3 separate regions of the Homo sapiens genome follow, and all the other regions are linked to region 2. Evidence: promoter capture Hi-C in human tissues and cell types (Jung and others, 2019). All regions are on one chromosome and are shown on one strand. Each heading gives the region's core, a stretch centred on a gene start or on the middle of the fragment in contact. The rest is flanking DNA. Distances are from core to core; before and after follow the strand shown.

Evidence for each region. The method cuts DNA at HindIII sites, captures the fragments that hold promoters and counts their contacts. A contact is called where the count stands out against the background at its distance.
Region 1: the fragment with the promoter of RAB3D here is called in contact with a fragment that was not itself captured in region 2 in 2 of the 25 tissues and cell types used here (heart right ventricle and small bowel).
Region 3: the fragment with the promoter of ECSIT here is called in contact with a fragment that was not itself captured in region 2 in 1 of the 25 tissues and cell types used here (dorsolateral prefrontal cortex).

What each region holds. Positions count from the first base shown.
Region 1 is chr19:11,338,348-11,341,233 of GRCh38, forward strand. RAB3D (RAB3D, member RAS oncogene family) reads right to left here and starts at 1,310. Exons shown (of 5, transcript NM_004283.4): 1 at 1,122-1,310. RefSeq lists a silencer at 1,093-1,352. The HindIII fragment of the contact is 13,813 bases long and covers 1,103-2,886 here.
Region 2 is chr19:12,628,846-12,631,601 of GRCh38, forward strand. ZNF791 (zinc finger protein 791) reads left to right here. Exons shown (of 4, transcript NM_153358.3): 4 at 1-2,756. The coding sequence ends at 415. Among named protein-coding and RNA genes, the nearest start is that of ZNF791, 19 kb to the left of the region's middle. The HindIII fragment of the contact is 6,065 bases long and covers 1-2,756 here.
Region 3 is chr19:11,527,693-11,530,392 of GRCh38, forward strand. It overlaps ECSIT (ECSIT signaling integrator), which reads right to left and starts at 1,442. Exons shown (of 8, transcript NM_016581.5): 1 at 1,370-1,442. The HindIII fragment of the contact is 19,805 bases long and covers 1-2,700 here.

The DNA.
Region 1 (2,886 bases), core at 60-2,559, 1.3 Mb before region 2:
CCAGCGTGTGCAGCCGGTGTGGCCCAGGTGTAAGCTGGGGTGGGGTGGGGGGAGGACCTGCCAGCTGGATAAGCTGGATAGAGCCCCTGATTAAGGCTTGGGTGTTGACTTTGGCAGGTGTCAGCCACTGGGGCGCCTGCCGCCCACCAACTCATGCCAAATACAACCCCTTCTCTGAGTTCCAAGGGGAAGGGGTTTTCTATGTACAGGGCCCAGGTTTAGAGTCCAGTTCTACCCCCTAAATGGGTACTGCTATTTTCTATTTGTCAAAGGGGCCAGGCCTGTCTCCTTCTGCCCAAGGCTGACTCACTCCAGCCCCAGTCCACGGAGGCAGGAGTGAGAGTCCTTATACCCAAGGAAACGATCCCAGCCACTTAATTAACACAACCCCACCACCACGACCACTGCCGCCCACCCTTGGTCTTTCCAGGCAATCTGTCCCACGGCTAGGCTCCTTGAATCTGCCCACACTCCAACATGCTGCTTCATCCGAGTCCAAGGTGCTCCCTCAACCCTCATAACCTCTCCCAGGCCTCAGTTTCCCCAGCTGTCTATGGCCGCTGCGGGAACCGCACGGAGAGGCTGCAGAAGGCCTGGATGCAGGCGGGGCAGAGGCAGAGACAGCCCTGGCACAGCTATTTCTCAACTGCCTTTGGGGCTTTTTTCCATTTTAAACCAGGACCCAACCGGCCCCACCCCGTGTTCCAGGAGAACGAGTTTAAGGAGGGGAAGAGAAGAGGCAGGAAACCTTTCCCCACGCAGGGCAGGGCCGCAAGGCTGGGGCCCCCACCTCCCCCAGCCTTAGCTCACCTGTGTCAGTCGGTCCCGCCTCTTTCTAACCATCTGCCGACCCTCCCTCAAGCCTGGCCCCGGAGGGCTCGCCTCTGTTCCCCTTCACTAGATTTGGGGCGCCCCAGCCAATGCAGGTGGACTCAGGAGTTTCCCCCATCACCATATGGTCCCAACGCCTGTCCCCAGCTGGGCTCTCTGCCCCGCCCGCGCCCCATCAGCGCTTCCCAAGTGCCCAGCTGGGTGGGGGCGAGGGCAGAGGCGTTCCCCGCAGCCCCGCCTTTGTTCCCCAGACCCCCTACCTTCCTCCCAAACCCCCGTACCCCACAGACCTGCTCGGATGCGGAGGGGCCGGGTGGGCTGCGCTCCTTCCCAGGGGTGACCTCGCGTAGGGGGCGCCGCCTGCAGGGGTTCCGCCTGTGAACTCGCTGCGGCTTGGCCCTGGCCGCGACCCCGACCCCGCAGCCGCAGAAGCCAGCAGCCTGCAGCCACCCGGATCCCGCGCGGGCTCCGCCCAGAAGGCGGAGGAAGGGCCGTTCCCGGAGCGGGGGATGGGGGAGGACGAAGAGGGGCCGAGTCTTGGGCGGGGCTTTCAGAGAGCGGGTGGGAGGGGCTGGAAGCTGCACCAAGCGTCTAGAGCCCGTCCTAGCCAAGCAACATCTCATTTTCCCAGCTGCTTGTAAAGAGCTTCTACTATACGCACGGCTGTTAAAAGCATAGAGTCTTGGGCCTGGTTCGAGTCCCAGCTCCACCACTTTCTAGTCTTGTGGCTTTGGACGCGTTACTTAACCTCTTTGAGCCTCAGTTTCCCCATCCGTCAAGTAGCTCATAGCGAGAGTACCCAACCTCACAGAGTTGTGGGAGGATTCTGATCTGAGTTAGTGTTTGTCAAGTGCAGTGCCGGCCTTAAAGTAGGCTAGGCCAGGCGCGGTGGCCTGTAATTACAGCAGTTTGGGAGGCCGAGGCAGGAGAATCACTTGAGGCCAGGAGTTTGAGACCAGCTTGGGCATCGTAAGGAGACCTCATCTCTACTAAAAATAACAAAAATTAGCCAGGTGTGGTGGCGTGCGTCTGTAACCCCAGCTACTTGGGAGGCTGAGGCAGGAGGATTGCTGGAGACATCGAGGCTGCAGTGAGCCTTGATTGCACCACAGCACTCCAGCCTGGGCAACAGAGCAAGACCCTGTTTCAAATAAATAAAAATAAACGAGAGCTGGGCGCGGTGGCTTATGCCTGTAATCCCAGTACTTTGGGAGGCCAAGGCAGGCGGATCACTTGAGGTCAGGAATTTAAGACCAGCCTGGCCAACATGGTGAAACCTCATCTCTACTAAAAAAAAAAAAAAAAAAATACAAATATTAGGGGCTGGGCACGGTGGCTCACACCTGTAATCTCAGCACTTTGGGAGGCCGAGGTGGGCAGATCACCTGAGGTCGGGAGTTCGAGACTAGCCTGGCCAACGTGAAGAAACCCTGTCTCTACTAAAAAATACAAAATTAGCCAGGCGTGGTGACGCATGCCTGTAATCCCAGTTACTCTGGAAGCTGAGGCAGGAGAATTGCTTGAACCCGGAAGGCGGAGGTTGCAGTGAGCCGAGATCACGCCACTGCACTCCAGCCTGGGCAAAAAGAGCGAAACTCTGTCTCAAATAAATAAATAAATATACAAAAATTAGCCGAGCATGGTGGTGCACACCTGTAATCCCAACTACTTGGGAGGCTGAGGCAGGAGAATCGCTTGAACCCAGGAGGTGGAGGTTGCAGTGAGCCGAGATCGCGCCACTGCACTCCAGCCTAGACGATGGAGTGAGACTCTGTCTCAAAAAAAAAAAAAAAAAAATTAAAAAATAAATGAGGCTGGGCACAGTGTCTGATGCCTGTAATCCCAGCCCTTTGGGAGGCTGAGGCAGGAGGATTCCTTGAGCTCAGGAGTTCAAGGCCAGCCTAGGCAACATAGAGATCCCAACTCTACAAAAAATTTTTTTGAAAATTAGCTGGCCACAAAAAAAAAAAAAAAAAAAAAAAGAAAAAGAAAAAAAGAAAAAAGAAAAAAAAATTAGCTGACCATGGGGGCACATACATGTAGTCTTAGCTACTC
Region 2 (2,756 bases), core at 13-2,512:
TTATAAATGTAGGGACTGTGGGAAGGTGTTCATTTTTCCTAGTGCGTTACGAACACATGAAAGAACTCACACTGGAGAGAAACCCTATGAATGTAAACAATGTGGAAAAGCCTTTAGTTGTTCTAGTTACATTCGGATACATAAAAGAACTCACACTGGGGAGAAACCTTATGAATGTAAGGAATGCGGGAAGGCCTTTATTTATCCCACAAGCTTTCAAGGACACATGAGAATGCATACTGGAGAGAAACCCTATAAATGTAAAGAATGTGGGAAGGCCTTTAGTCTTCACAGTTCCTTTCAAAGACATACAAGAATTCACAATTATGAGAAACCTCTTGAATGTAAGCAATGTGGAAAAGCCTTCAGTGTGTCCACATCCTTAAAAAAACATATGAGAATGCACAATCGATAGAAACTCTATAAATGTGAGAAATAGGAGAAAGTTTTCAATTCTAACAGATGCTTTCAAAGTTGTGAAAATTCCCACTGAAGAGAGAAATCCTGTCAATGTAAGTAATATAGAAAGCGAGATACAAGATGATTCATGTATAGTCAGGTACCACATAATCATGTTTCAGTCAGCAATGGACCATATAGGTTGGTAGCCCCATAAGATTATATAACACCTAAAACATTTCTATCAACCGCAATTTAGTAGCAGTAGTAACACCATAGTGCAGCACATTATTTAAGTGTTTATGGTGCTGGTGTAAACGTGCTGCACTTTCAGTTGTATAAAAGTACAAGACAGCGGCCGGGGACGGTGGCTCACGCCTGTAATCCCAGCACTTTGGGAGGCCAAGGCGGGCGGATCACGAGGCCAGGAGATCAAGACCATCCTGGCTAACACGGTAAAACCCCATCTCTACTAAAAATACAAACAATTAGCCGGGCGTGGTGGTGGGCGCCTGTAGTCCCAGCTACTTGGGAGGCTGAGGCAGGAGAATGGCATAAACCCAGGAGGCCGAGCTGACAGTGAGCTGAGATCCGGCCAACAGAGCGAGACTCTGTCTCAAAAAAAAAAAAAAAAAAAAAGTACAACACAGCTGGGCATGGTCACACCTGTGATCCCAACACTGGGAGACTAAGGCAGTAGGATTGCTTGATGCCAGGACTACTCTGGTCAACCTAGTGAGACCCTGTCTCTACAAAAAATAAAAACATTTTCTAAGTGTGGTAGCACACCCTGTAGTCCCATCTACATGGGAGGCTGAGGCAGGAGGATTGCCTGAGCCCAGGAGTTCAAGGCTACAGTGAACCAAGATCACGTGATGGCAGTCCAGCATGGGTGACAGTGAGACTGTATCAAAAAAAAAAAAAAAAAATTGGCTGGGCACAGTGGCTCATACCTGTAATCCCAGCACTTTGGGAGGCTGAGGTGGGAGAATCAGTTGAGGTCAGGAGTTCAAGACCAGCCTGGTCAACATGATGAAACCCTGTCTCCATTAGAAATACGAAAATTAGCTGGGCGTTCTGGTGTGCCTGTAGTCCCAGCTACTTGGGAGGCCAAAGCAGGAGAATCGCTTGAACCCGGGAGGTGGAGATTGCAGTGAGCTGAGATCTACCACTACACTCCAGCCTGGGTGACAGAGCGAGACTCCGTCTCGAAAAAAAAAAAATTACAGCACAGATGTGCAATATATACTTGATAATAAATGGCTAAGTTACTGGTTTATATATTTACAATCCTGTTTTAGAATGTATTCCTGTGTTTTTTTAACAGTAAGACAGTCTCAGGCAGGTCCTTAAGGAGATATTCCCGGAAAAACTTTGTTATGATAGGCGATGACGGCTCCATGTGCAGGACTGCCCCTGAACGTATTCTGGCGGGACAAAACATGGAGGCAGAAGACAATGATATTGATGATCCTCACCCCGTGTAGTCCTACACTAATGTGTGTTTGTGTCTTAGTTAGTCTTTAACAAAAATAGTTTAAAAAAATTTAATAGAAAAAGCTTATAGAATATGGACATAAAATATTTTTGTACAGCTGTACAATGTGTTTTAAGCTAAATTATTACAAAGTTTTTAAAAATAAGTTTATAAAGAAAATAATGTACAGTAAGTTAAGGTTTATTCATTATTGAGGAAAAAATGTTTTTATGAATGTAGTGTAGTCCAAGTGTACAGTGTTTATAAATTCTCCATTAGTGTACAGTAACATCCTGGGCCTTCGCATTCACTCACCACTCAACTGACTCACCCAGAGCAACTTCTAGTCCTGCAAGCTATGTTCATGGAGTGTCCTATGCAGGTGCATCCTTTTTTATCTTTTATACTGCATGTTTACTCTGTGTATTTTCTGTGTTTAGACTCATAAATACTTAACATTTTGTTACAATTTCCTACAGTGTTCAGTACAACAACATGTTGTATGGTTTATAGCCTAGTAGCAATAGACTGTACCATATAGTCTAGATGTGTTGTAGCTATACCATCTAGATTTGTGTAAGTTCACTTTGTGATGTTTGTACCATGAGGAAATCACCTACAACACGTTTCTCAGAACATATACCCATGATTAAGCAATCTCTGCCTGTAAAATGCTCCAGAAAATTCACACCATGATATAAATTCATCACACACGATATAAAAGTTAAGGCAAGGCATGGTGGCTCATGCCTGTAATCCCAGCACTTTGGGAGGCCAAGGCAGGCAGATCACCTGAGGTCAGGAGTTCGAGACCAGCCTGGCCAAGACGGTGAAACCCCATCTCTACTAAAAATACAAAAATTACCTGAGCGTGGTGGCA
Region 3 (2,700 bases), core at 192-2,691, 1.1 Mb before region 2:
AAAAATAAATAAATAGCCAGGGAGCAGTGGCTCATGCCTATAATCCTAGTGCTTTGGAAGTCCAAGTGGGGAGGATCGCTTGAGCCCAGGAGTTCAAGACCAGCCTGGACAACATAGCAGGACACGATCTTTACAAAAATTATTTTAAAAAATTAGCTGGACCTGGTGGTGTGCACCTGTAGTTCCAGCTACTGGGAAAGCTGAGGCAGGAGAATCACTTGAGCCATGGAGTTTGAGGCTGCAGTGAGCTATGGAGTGCACTGCACCACTGCACTCCAGGCTTGACGAACAAGTGAGATCCTGTCTCTAAAAAATAAAAATAAATAAATAAAATCAGATAGGGTCTACCCCTCTAAACTCAACTCCTACCACTGGCAGCTTCAGCTACACTGTTTCTGAAAGAAACTAAGTTTATCCCATCTCAGAACCTTTGTACTTGCTTTTCTCTCTGTCTAGAGCTTTCTTCCTCCAGATCTGCCCACAGCTGTCTCTGGTCATTTCAATGAAAGGTCTTCTTTGACCATCTCCCATTCCCCACATTCTAAAAGCCCTCATCACCCTATTAATTTTTGTTTCGGAGACAGGGTCCTGCTCTGTTGCCCAGGCTGGGGTGCAGTGGCACAATCACGGCTCACTACAGCCTCAACCTCCTGGGCTCAAGCAATCCTCCCACCTCAGCTTCCCGAGTAGCTAGGACTACAGGCGTGCACCACTACGCCCAGATAATTTTTTGTAGAGAACAGGGTCTTGCTATGTTGCCAAGGCTGGTCTCGAAACTCCTGGGCTCAAGCGAAATTCCCGACACCATTAACGCATTTTTAGTAACTTATCAGTATCTGAAATCACCTGTTTCGTTTATTTCTAATTTGTTCAAAGTCTGGTTCCCCCAGGAGATGAGAGATTTTTATCTATCTTCCTCATTGCTGTGTCTCCAGCACCAAGGACAGTGCCTGGTATATGACAGATGCCTAACGAGTAACAACTGAACGGAAACAAGCCTCAATTTCAAAAAAACACCTATAAATCTGAACCCCGAGGTATGGTGTACGTACAACAGCTTTGAAACCGGCTGCCAGGATTCTGGGTCTCTTGGGGGAAAAAGGCAGACGCGGATTCCAAATCCTGCCCGGTTGCCGACTTGCGGCGTGACCTCTCGCGAGGTCATCTGCAAAATGGGAGACTGGGGGCGTGAGGCGGCTGGCACAAGACAGGCGGCCTTTCCCAGCGCGTCCCCGCCCCCACTACGAAAGGTCATGGCGCCCTGGCCCTGCAGCTGGGTCCCTCCAGGGCTGCCCTCTCGCGCTGCCGGGTCCTGAAGGGCCCGCCTGCAGCCCAGCAGTTCGCGTTCGCCTACCCGCGCGCGACCTACCTACTCACGCGGCCAGCCGCGGACTCCAGGCCAGCTCTGTCTTGTTGCTGGGCGCTGCCATATTGGCCCAGAGAGCGTCCGGGTCAGGGAGCTCCAGGGAGGTAGCAAATCAAGAAAGCTGGTGTAATAGGTCCCGCCCACAACGCGAGGTGGGCCAATAGGAAGGCGGAAGGATCTGGGACCCGCCTCATAACGAGCCAGGCCCAGCCTCTAATGAGGCAAGACGCACTCCAGACCTGGGAACCTTGAAATGGCCCGGGAGGCTGGACTTGGGAGTCATAGTCTATGAATCCAGTCGCAGGCCCCAGCGGCTGAAATGAGAAAATGAATTAAAAAAAAACAAAAAGTGAAAGGGGGCCGGTACGGTGGCTCATGCCTGTAATCCCAGCACTTTGGGAGGCCAGAAGTTCGAGACCAGCCTGGGCAACATAGCGAGACCCCCTTATCTACAAAAAATTTAAAAATTAACTGGGCATGATGGCGCATGCTCATAGTCCCAGCTATTCGGGAGGCTGAAACGGGAGGATCGCTTGAGCCCTGGAGGTCGAGGCTACAGCGAGCCATGATTGCACCCCTGCACTCCAGCCTGGGCAACAGAGTGAGACCCTGTTTCTAAAAATAGTAATAATAAATAAATAGGGCAGGGCGCGGTGGCTCACGCCTGTAATCCCAACACTTTGGGAGGCCGAGGCCTGCGGATCACCTGAGGTCAGGAGTTCGAGACCAGCCTGGCCAACATGATGAAACCCCGTCTCTACTAAAAATACAAAGTTAGCAGGGCATGGTGGTGGGTGCCTGTAATCCCAGCTTCTCGGGAGGTTGAGGCAGGAGAATCGCTTGAACCCGGGAGACGGAGGTTGCAGTGAGCCAGGATAACACCACTGCACTCCAGCCTCAGCAACAGAGCGAGACTCTGTCTCAAAAAATAAATAAATAAATAAAAATTAGTGGGGCGTGGTGGCGTGCTCCTGTGATCCCAGCTACTCGGGAGGCTGAGGCACGAGAATTGCTTGAACCCAGGAGGTGGAGGTTGCAGCGAGCCGATATAGCACCACTGCACTCCAGCCTGGGCGACAGAGTGAGACTCCGTCTCAGTAAATAAATAAATAGGAAGGCCTCAGTGAGGTGTCCTTTGAGTAAAGGCCGGAGGAAGTGAGTGAGCCATCTGGATATCTGGGGAACGCTTTTGGCACTGGGAACAACAGCAAAGACTCTGTGTGGTCGGAGTGGAGTCTTTGGAGGAAATGGGATAAAACGAGGTGAGATTGAGTAATGGGGGCTCCTGGTCTCCCCCAGAAAGCACCAGATTTAGGCTGTTAATAACTAAGGTG